Regions from separate parts of the Homo sapiens genome. Here regions 1 and 2 are each linked to region 3. Evidence: promoter capture Hi-C in human tissues and cell types (Jung and others, 2019). All regions are on one chromosome and are shown on one strand. The core of a region is centred on a gene start or on the middle of the fragment in contact, and the rest is flanking DNA. Distances in the headings are between cores, read along the strand shown.

The links. Contacts are between HindIII fragments. The study calls those that stand out against the background at their distance.
Region 1: a contact is called between the fragment with the promoter of NLE1 here and the fragment with the promoter of TMEM132E in region 3, in 2 of the 25 tissues and cell types used here (IMR-90 fibroblasts and spleen).
Region 2: the fragment with the promoter of PEX12 here is called in contact with the fragment with the promoter of TMEM132E in region 3 in 2 of the 25 tissues and cell types used here (IMR-90 fibroblasts and dorsolateral prefrontal cortex).

What each region holds. Positions count from the first base shown.
Region 1 is chr17:35,141,017-35,143,716 of GRCh38, reverse strand. It overlaps NLE1 (notchless homolog 1), which reads left to right and starts at 1,414. Exons shown (of 13, transcript NM_018096.5): 1 at 1,414-1,459; 2 at 1,595-1,738. The coding sequence starts at 1,442. RefSeq lists an enhancer at 1,106-1,983. The HindIII fragment of the contact is 6,679 bases long and covers 1-2,700 here.
Region 2 is chr17:35,577,321-35,580,267 of GRCh38, reverse strand. It overlaps PEX12 (peroxisomal biogenesis factor 12), which reads left to right and starts at 1,697. Exons shown (of 3, transcript NM_000286.3): 1 at 1,697-2,372; 2 at 2,677-2,947. The coding sequence starts at 2,247. RefSeq lists an enhancer at 1,618-2,433. The HindIII fragment of the contact is 4,748 bases long and covers 1-2,947 here.
Region 3 is chr17:34,578,041-34,580,943 of GRCh38, reverse strand. It overlaps TMEM132E (transmembrane protein 132E), which reads right to left and starts at 1,362. Exons shown (of 9, transcript NM_001304438.2): 1 at 1-1,362. TMEM132E-DT (TMEM132E divergent transcript) reads left to right here and starts at 1,575. Exons shown (of 2, transcript NR_160787.1): 1 at 1,575-2,073. RefSeq lists enhancers at 1,338-1,873, 1,874-2,410. The HindIII fragment of the contact is 28,166 bases long and covers 1-2,903 here.

The DNA of each region.
Region 1 (2,700 bases), core at 165-2,664, 560 kb before region 3:
CCGTCGCAGGGTTTGAGGGTGAAGAGCAGCAGGCCAGATTTTTGGTCTGAAAAGATAACCCTGGCTGCATCGTGGAGAATGGGTAGAAAGAGGCAGGAATGGAAATGGGGGGGCTCATCGGGAGGCTGTTGTAGCGGTCCAGGCAGGTGATGATGGTGACTCTGACCAGAGTGAGGCAGTGGAGATGGGGAGAGCAGATTCAAGCTGTGTTCATGAGGATGACTTGGCAGAGCTTGAGACTGCCTGAGCAGTGGAGGGAGAGAGAGGAGAGTTGGCAAGGGAGATCCTTCGTTTCAGGCAAAAGAGCTCAAGTTCATTGCTGTCTGCTTCAGTTCCTCAGTAATATGGGGAGAAAAGGGTTGTAAGAATTAAATGAGTTATGTGGGAAAGCACTTAGAACAATTCCTGACTTGTTGATGTCATTATCACTATTATTGCTTTACAGCATTGATGATTGTAGAAATGATTTGCTTTTGTACTCGAGTATTATTGAGTTGATCCATTTTATTTATTTATTTATTTATTTATTTATTTATTTATTTATTTATTTATTGAGACAGAGTCTTGCTCTGTCATCCAGGCTGGAGTGCAGTGGTGAGAGCTCGGCTCACTGCAACCTCTGCCTCCCAGGTTCAAGAGAATCTACCACCTCAGCCTCTCCAGTAGCTATGACCACAGGCGCATGCCACCACGGCTGGTTAATTTTTTTGTATTTTTAGTAGAGACCTGGTTTCACCATGTTGGCCAGGCTGGTCTCGAACTCCTGGACTCAAGTGATCTGCTCGCCTGGGCCTTCCAAAGCGCTGGGATTACAGGTGTCAGCCACCACGCCCAGCCTTGACTTGATCCATTTTTAAAAGGATACTAATTTCTAGGCTAGGCGTGGTGGCTCACACCTGTAATCCCAGCACTTTGGGACACTGAGGCTGGGGAGTGGGGGACTTGCTGCTTGAGTTCAGGAGTTTGAGACCAGCCTGGGCAACATAGTGAGACCTCGTCTCTACAAAAAATGAGAAAAAAATAACCGGGCAGGGTGTCATGTGCCTGTAGTCCAGGCTACTCTGAGGCTGAGGTGGGAGGATCGCTGTGCCAGAAAGTTCGAGACTGCAGTGAGCCGTGGTGGCACCACTGCCCTCCAGTCTGGGCGACGGAGTGAAACTCTGTCTCAAAATGAAATTAAATTAAAATGGGGCAAGAATCCCTGTTGTGAAGAGTCAAAAGTTTACTGTGTCCTCTAAGACCCTGGCGAAAAATAAATGTGAAGGCTGTTGAGGGGCGGGAGGAGCACCAGGTAAGCCCATTTCTAATCCCTGAGGCCGTGCGCAGCGGGACGCTTCTCCTCCCCAACAGCAGAGGGCGATGTGGCCGGCGGCGACCCCGCCCGACCACGGAGACGGCGCTCTGTCTGCCGGGCTCTTTCTCCTCCACGTGGGGACGCAGGATGGCGGCAGCAGTGCCGGTGGGTGTGCGTGGATGGGGGCGGGGGGCGTCGCCGCGGGGCGCTAGGGCCCGGGTCCCTGAGGCCTGAGAGAGGCGAAGTGGGGCCCTTCTGGGCGGGCGACCAGACTGACTCCCGCCCCACTTGCTCGCGCAGGACGAGGCGGTGGCGCGCGATGTGCAGCGGTTGCTAGTGCAGTTCCAGGATGAGGGCGGGCAGCTGCTGGGTTCCCCGTTCGACGTGCCCGTGGACATCACCCCGGACAGGCTGCAGCTCGTGTGCAACGCGCTACTGGCCCAGGTAAGTGGCTGGCCAGGGCGGCCTCGCATCTCCACCCCCGGGCGGATGCGGTGGGGGAATCATATTACCGAGGGTCTGCGGTTCATGGTCCCCCGCTAACGGACTGTGGTGACCCACCTGGCGTGAGCTCCCACCTATGTCAGAGATGGAATCAGTGGCATAGCGCTTTACACGCCAACCAAAGGGGTCCACCTGCGGAGAGGGGCCTAGCTTTGAACGCACCGGATGCTGTATTTCATTGATTCTTTGTCACAGTCCCCCAGTCTGGGACACGTTAATATCCCCATTTTACAGCGTGGCCCGGAGGGACTCAGTATTTTGCACGATGCTATGTAGTAGGTAGCAGATTTGGAATTGGAACCCAAAACTATCCGAATACCCATGCTTTTATTTATTTATTTATTTACCTTTTTTTTTTTTTTTTTTGAGACGGAGTCTCACTTTGTCGCCAGGCTGGCAAGCTGGAGTGTAGTGGCGTGATCTCTGCTCACTGCAATCTCTGCCTCCCAGGTTCAAGCGATTCTCCTGCCTCAGCCTCCCGAGTAGCTGGGACTACAGGCGCGCGCCACCACACCCAGCTAATTTTTGTATTTTTAGTGGGGACTGGGTTTCACCACGTTGGCCAGGATGGTCTCGATCTCTTGACCTCGTGATCCTCCCGCCTTGGCCTCCAAAGTGCTGGGGATTACTGGCGTGAGCCACCGCACCCGGCCTTTGCTTTTAACCTTTAAGCCAGTGTGTTTACTGAAGAGCTGCCCTGGGGACAGGGGAGGTCCTTAAAATTGCAGTTCCTGGACCCCATCCCAGCCTTACTAAACCAAACTCTGGGATGAAGCAGAAAGTCTACATTTTTTAACAGGCGTTTTGGGAGCTTTTTACACAAATATAGTGTAGTGTGGTAGTTTGGGAAACACTGCATAATGCTATATGCTAATCCTATCTTGGACGTAAAGAACCTGAAT
Region 2 (2,947 bases), core at 448-2,947, 1.0 Mb before region 3:
TATGCCATACGTTTAGTTAACTTTTGGAGTACTTCCATGGGACTATCAATCAAGACATCCTGCCTTCCCCTGGCTAAGAGTGAAAGACAGGGTGGAGAGGGAACTTGAACCAAGAGAGGTCAGTCAAAATTTGTATCACGAGCAGAGTCACAAACAGAAATTGGTGGAAGCTCGTTCACTGCAACAACGTTGCCTGGATAAGAACTTCTAATTCCTGTTAGGCAGTCCCAATAGTATTGTTAAGTTCCTGTTCTTTCAGGGCTGGCTTTACTTATTTTGTGAGCTACTCCATACACTTCTAATAAATTCCGTTTTAGTTTAAATTAGCCTGTTTGTTTCTGTTGCTTGTAACCAAAGATCCCTAAGTGACAAAAATGTTTAATTTCCTGCTTGATTTAGTTGATGCTACCTCTCAACTTTGTATTTTTGCTATTCACTTAAGAAAAGCTTGTACATAACAGTTACTATTAAACAAGCACCTAATATGTATCCAGGTGCTTCATATGGATAAACTATGTCTAGTCTTAAAACTCTGTAAGGTAAAAATCATATATCAATATAATGTCTTTTGGTAGAGTAAAAAACACTTTTTATAACTATAATTAAGGACAATTTGTAAGGTTTTCTCTCCTATTGGAATAACTAAATCCAAACCTTGTTTTTGAGGGTTCTCATTATGCAAACCAATTATTTTTATAACATAAGGGCCTCTAGGGCAGTAAACAATACCTTCTATTCCCAGCTATTTAGCCCAGAGGTGGCACTTCCCAGAGGAAGGGAGGAGAGGTGGAACTCTCATCCAAATTCAATAAGGCTGTGTCAGCCAACTTCAGCGAGACAAAGCTGTACATAACATAAAAGCACTTTACAAACCTTAAGGTAAATCACATTCATTTTGGTATAAAAACGGCATGAAAGGAAACTTTCTGTCAAGTGTCCCCAGTGCATGCTAGTTACAATTCATAAAGCTCCCTCTGCGTTAGTACTGTATTCATATCGCTGGTGGTGACATATACAACTGTGTTCAAGGATGGAGACCATTTTCATCCAGTATAGCAAGTGCATGCAGTTATGCTTGAATATAGCCAAAACCTGGAAGACGTTAAACTACCAGCTTGGATGAAAATTAACCGTCTCAAGTACTGAGGAACAAGCATGAACCTTTCTCAATCCAATCATCTTTCCTTATAATTGGCGGCAATAAATCTAAGGCTCCTATCTCCTGCTATGTCGCTTTAAATCATTTCTGGAAGGCTAAGACATATAAATTAACCACCATCCCTGCCGCACGCGTACAGCAAAGTCCTTTCCACCTCCAGATTCCCTTCCTCCCACCGCCCCTAGCTTCATCGCCTGCAGGAACACAGGGCTCAGCAACGGGCCCGAGCTCTGGCTCCCGGCGCCAGACGTCTGCGCGGTGCCCCAAACAGCTTGTCAAAAAGACCTCGCAGAGAGAGGTTCAGAGCTGTAGCTTTCCAGCGAGGCTACCATGCAGACCCAGCTACGAAAAGTAAACCAAACTAGCCAAAACCAGCCCACAAGGGCCCTCTTCTGTTTCAGCGGGGCGGGAGCGGAAGCTCAGGTGGGTCATAGAGTTCTCTAGTTCTGGTTTCCGGACCGCATTCGGAACTAGAGCGCCTCTCTTCCGCCAGGCATCCCAGAGGTCCTGGTGGTTTCATTTCCGGGTGCGGCTTCTGTCATAAAGCGGAGACCTCCCTTCAAACGTGGCGTCGTGGGTTGTTTGCGCCTCGCCTGGGGTCAGCGAGCAAGGACGGGCGCGGGCGGGGATACTCAAAGCCAACAGCTGGAGTCAGCCCTTGTGTCCCGGGCTCACAGTGGCACGACTGAATCCTCAGAGTCGGCTGGCTTTTGAGCTCTCACGATTGGGGAGGAGGGGGCGTTTCTGGTTCGCAGCTCCAGAGGATTGCGTTCCTTCCCCCATACCTGTCCCCCACAGTCACGCTCTGCCCTGACGTGCAGCATTTGACAAGTTACCCCCTCGCCACATACTACTTCCACCCACGTCCGAGTTAACTTTGTTCTTAACCTTCTTGAGACTACCCTCGGCCTCCAGGTCTTTTTTTCCCAGTTCATTTTTGCCCATAAGATTGAGTTTCGAGTTTCAGATATCATGCAGAAAGTTTACCTTTAAGACTGAGCACCCATCTGATACTCTTCCTCCCGAAAAAGTTCATGCTCACGAGAGAGTTTGTGGGAAAAGTGAAAGCCAGTACACGCAGGAAACTATGGCTGAGCACGGGGCTCACTTCACAGCTGCTTCTGTGGCCGATGACCAGCCATCCATCTTTGAGGTGGTAGCACAGGACAGTTTAATGACAGCAGTGAGACCCGCTCTTCAGCATGTGGTCAAGGTAAGGTATTAATTCTTGGAAAGGTTTTAGGGACAACTGGGTAAAAAACAAACGAATAATTTGTGCTTATTTGGTAGCCTAGCGTTTGAAATAGCCAATTTGCAAATAACTTGTATCCCATGACTTAAGAGTTACTGAGTCTCTGTTATGTGTAGAGACCTGTACTGAATACCCAGCATTTCAGGGTCCAACAGTGACTTATTTAAAACAAATTGTGTAGACTTTAGAGGAAAAGGGGGAATGTAAATAGGTGTAGAACTTGTGTAATGGAATGAATTTCACTTATTGCTTTATTTTGCTTTAGGTTCTTGCAGAATCAAATCCCACCCACTATGGCTTCTTGTGGAGGTGGTTTGATGAAATCTTTACTCTGCTAGATCTTCTGCTCCAGCAACATTATCTGTCTAGAACCAGTGCCTCATTTTCTGAAAACTTTTACGGCTTAAAGAGAATTGTAATGGGGGACACTCACAAGTCTCAGAGATTGGCTAGTGCTGGTCTCCCAAAGCAGCAGCTTTGGAAATCTATTATGTTCCTGGTTCTTCTTCCCTATCTGAAAGTGAAGCTGGAGAAGC
Region 3 (2,903 bases), core at 113-2,612:
AGTGCAATTCGGGGACACTTTGCGGGGAGGGGGCGTCCCAGGCGCTGGCGGCTACACCCTCGGAGCCGGTGGGGGCGCAGCTCCGGGCGGGAGGAGCCTCCACCTCCCCCAGCTGGTGCCCCCTGCAGGATCTGCGAGGCGCGGGGGGAGCTGCACGTGCAGTCCGGAGCCCGGTGGCCGCGGGCGTCCCGGGGGCTACCTAGAGCCCAGTGCTGAATCTCCCGGCCTCACGGCCCAGCTCGAATCCGAACTCACTCGAGGGTGCCGACTTCCAACGCAATCCCCAGTTTCCTCGGTTTCGGTAGTAACCGCACATGGATAGCGCCGCTTTCTTCCTCCAAGCCCCTGCAGCAGCCCAGCATAAAAATCCCAGGTCAGGTGCAAATGAATGCTGTCTTTCTCAAAGAAAGAGAAAATCCAGACAACTTTAATCCATCTGGAGAAGGAAAAGTTTCCGTGCGGTGCTGAAACTGGCGACGCCGGTCGCCACCACCCTAGGCGACGCCCAGACCGGATGCCCGAGGCGGGCGGCCAGATGTTTGTCCCCTCGCAAGGCTCGCTCCTCCGCTCCAGCGCGCTTTCTCCAGTCTGGATCAGGGCCCAGGCTCCACACAGGCCGGCTCAGCGCCTCCTGCCCAGGCAGCCGCTCGGCGGCTGGGGCAAGGGTGGCGCGGCCAGAACGGGCTGCCCCATGTAGATGGGGCTTGGAGAAGCGAGGGAGCGAGAAAGCCGGCTAATGCGCCCTGCCCCGAGCCCTTCCTGCCCAGGACGTCGACTCCAGCTTGATGACCATAAACGCTGTAAGATGCAGAGGGGCTCCTGCAGCTCACGGCAGCTCCGGGCCACCCCGCTAAGGTCTCGCTGTCTCGGCAGAGAGGCGCGCTGCCCCGCCTCGCTCCTCGCCTTCCCTGGGGGAACCTGCACAAACCTTGAACTTTTCTGGGGTTCAGAGTCTCCGACGCCTCCTCCCCGCCGCCCCCACCCTGTCCCCGGACGCCCGTTCGCCCGCTGTCTCGATGCTGCCGGGCATCGGCTCCCGCTCCCTCCGAGTCAGTTTGGGCGAGCGGATCGCCGCGCCAGTCCGGGCTGCGGGCGGTGAGACGCGGGCGCGGCGCCAGGGGCCAGGGCAGCCGGCACCTGCGCAGCTTGCGGCCAGGGAAGCGGCAGCTGGTGCCTACGGGGCCGAGAGGAGAGGAGGTGCTGGCAGGGGAGCCGGCTCCCCATGGACGTGTGTGGGGGAAGAAGAAGAATCGAGGAGCAAAAAGGAAGAGGAGGTGGGGGAAGCCACAGTTGCACGAAGCAGCCGCCGCCGCCGTCGCCGCCTCCTCGGCGCTCGCGCCGGCTGCTCCGCCGTAAATGACTCGAGAGAGACACACACACTCGCGCTCGCCCGCCCTCCTCCTCCGTCCGGGATTCAGCGCCCACCCGGGCAGAAGCGGGCGCCGAGCTTGGCGCGCTCACTCCCACCCCTCCCAGATTCCCCGTGGTCACGTGGCCCCCGAGCGCGCGGCCCACAGCTCGCGCGCCACGGAGACTCCCCGACTCCTAGCTCCCCCTCCTCTGTCCACGTGTCCATTCCGCATTCCTAGCCTGGCGGCGCGCGCGGCTCCTTAATGAGACTCGGGCCAAGGGCCGACCTCGCGATTCCGCTCGCCCCTATTTTATGTTTGATTTTTCCTTCCCAACGCCGGCTAGCGCTGGGACCCGAATGGGGCCGGCCAGCTGCGGCGGGAGGAGCCTCCACCTCCCTCAGCTGCGTTTCTCCAGGGTAGACGCCACCGCAGTCACTGATGTCCCTTTTCAAAGGATGCACGCTCCCCACCGGGCGCCGGAGGTGTTTTGCAGCCGCTCTTCCAGAGGCGCGGGTAGGGGGCACCCTACCCCCACCCCCAGAGTTCGCTGGGCACTGGCTGGGAATCAGCCTCGCTGCTGTGCCCAGCTCCTCTCGGGCCGCGGGGGCTCTGGGGCTCAGCTTCGTGCGGGATGGGTCCGGGGCGCAGCTGTGGGAAACCTATTTATTCTGTTGCTGGGGAAGGAAGACGGAGAAGAGGAGGGGACAGTGCTTTCCTACAGGTTGTTTAGCAAGCCTTTAAAGAGGCATGAGGTGGGGGTGGGGAACTGCCCCTCTTGCATACTCACCCAGGCACCTGCTGACTAGCGGGAGGGGTGGCTGGAGTGATATCTGTTCCCACCATCAGGCCCTTTCCATTAGAGTGCAACCTAGATCAGACCCGGCAAGTCAACCTTCACACCTCATCTGTCAACCAGGCATCGGATCCATGGCAATGATTTTATAGCTTCGTTGGGTATCAACTCCAATCCCCAGAGGGTGAATTTCAATCCTACCCTGCTCTGGAGGGACAGGGTCTTCAATCCCATGGACATATCCCTACTGGGGAGGATATGGATCTTGAGGGTCACCCTTCCATACCTCTGCACTCAACTGGAGTGAGAGTGTGGGGCCAGGTCAGAGCAAAGCCAGCTGGGGCACTCAAACCGTGCCCTCCATCTGCCTGACTCCATGCTAGCCCTCTTGACCCTGAGAGTTTCCTTTCATCTAGGACGGTGACATTTTGTTTTTGGAAAATGTGCTTGCATTTTTCATGGAAGGCTTCCTCCTCCCTGGCTGCTGGCTGTTGCTGCCTCGCTTGGTACTGGGGCCTGTAGAGGGCTGCTCTGGCCCTTCCCCCACCCCTACATCTGTCTGGAGCTGGGGGGAGGTGCAGCCTGAGGAGAGCTGGCCAGCTCTTGGAGGCCCTGGGGATAGAAGGTGCTGGAGTCGTCAAAGAAGATTATTCTCATTAGGCCCCTAATGCCTGATGGCAATTAATGTCACCCAAGGGCTTATTCACCAACCCCCTGAGAAGCAAGCTAGCAATCAGGCTCTGTGTGGGGGAGAAAGG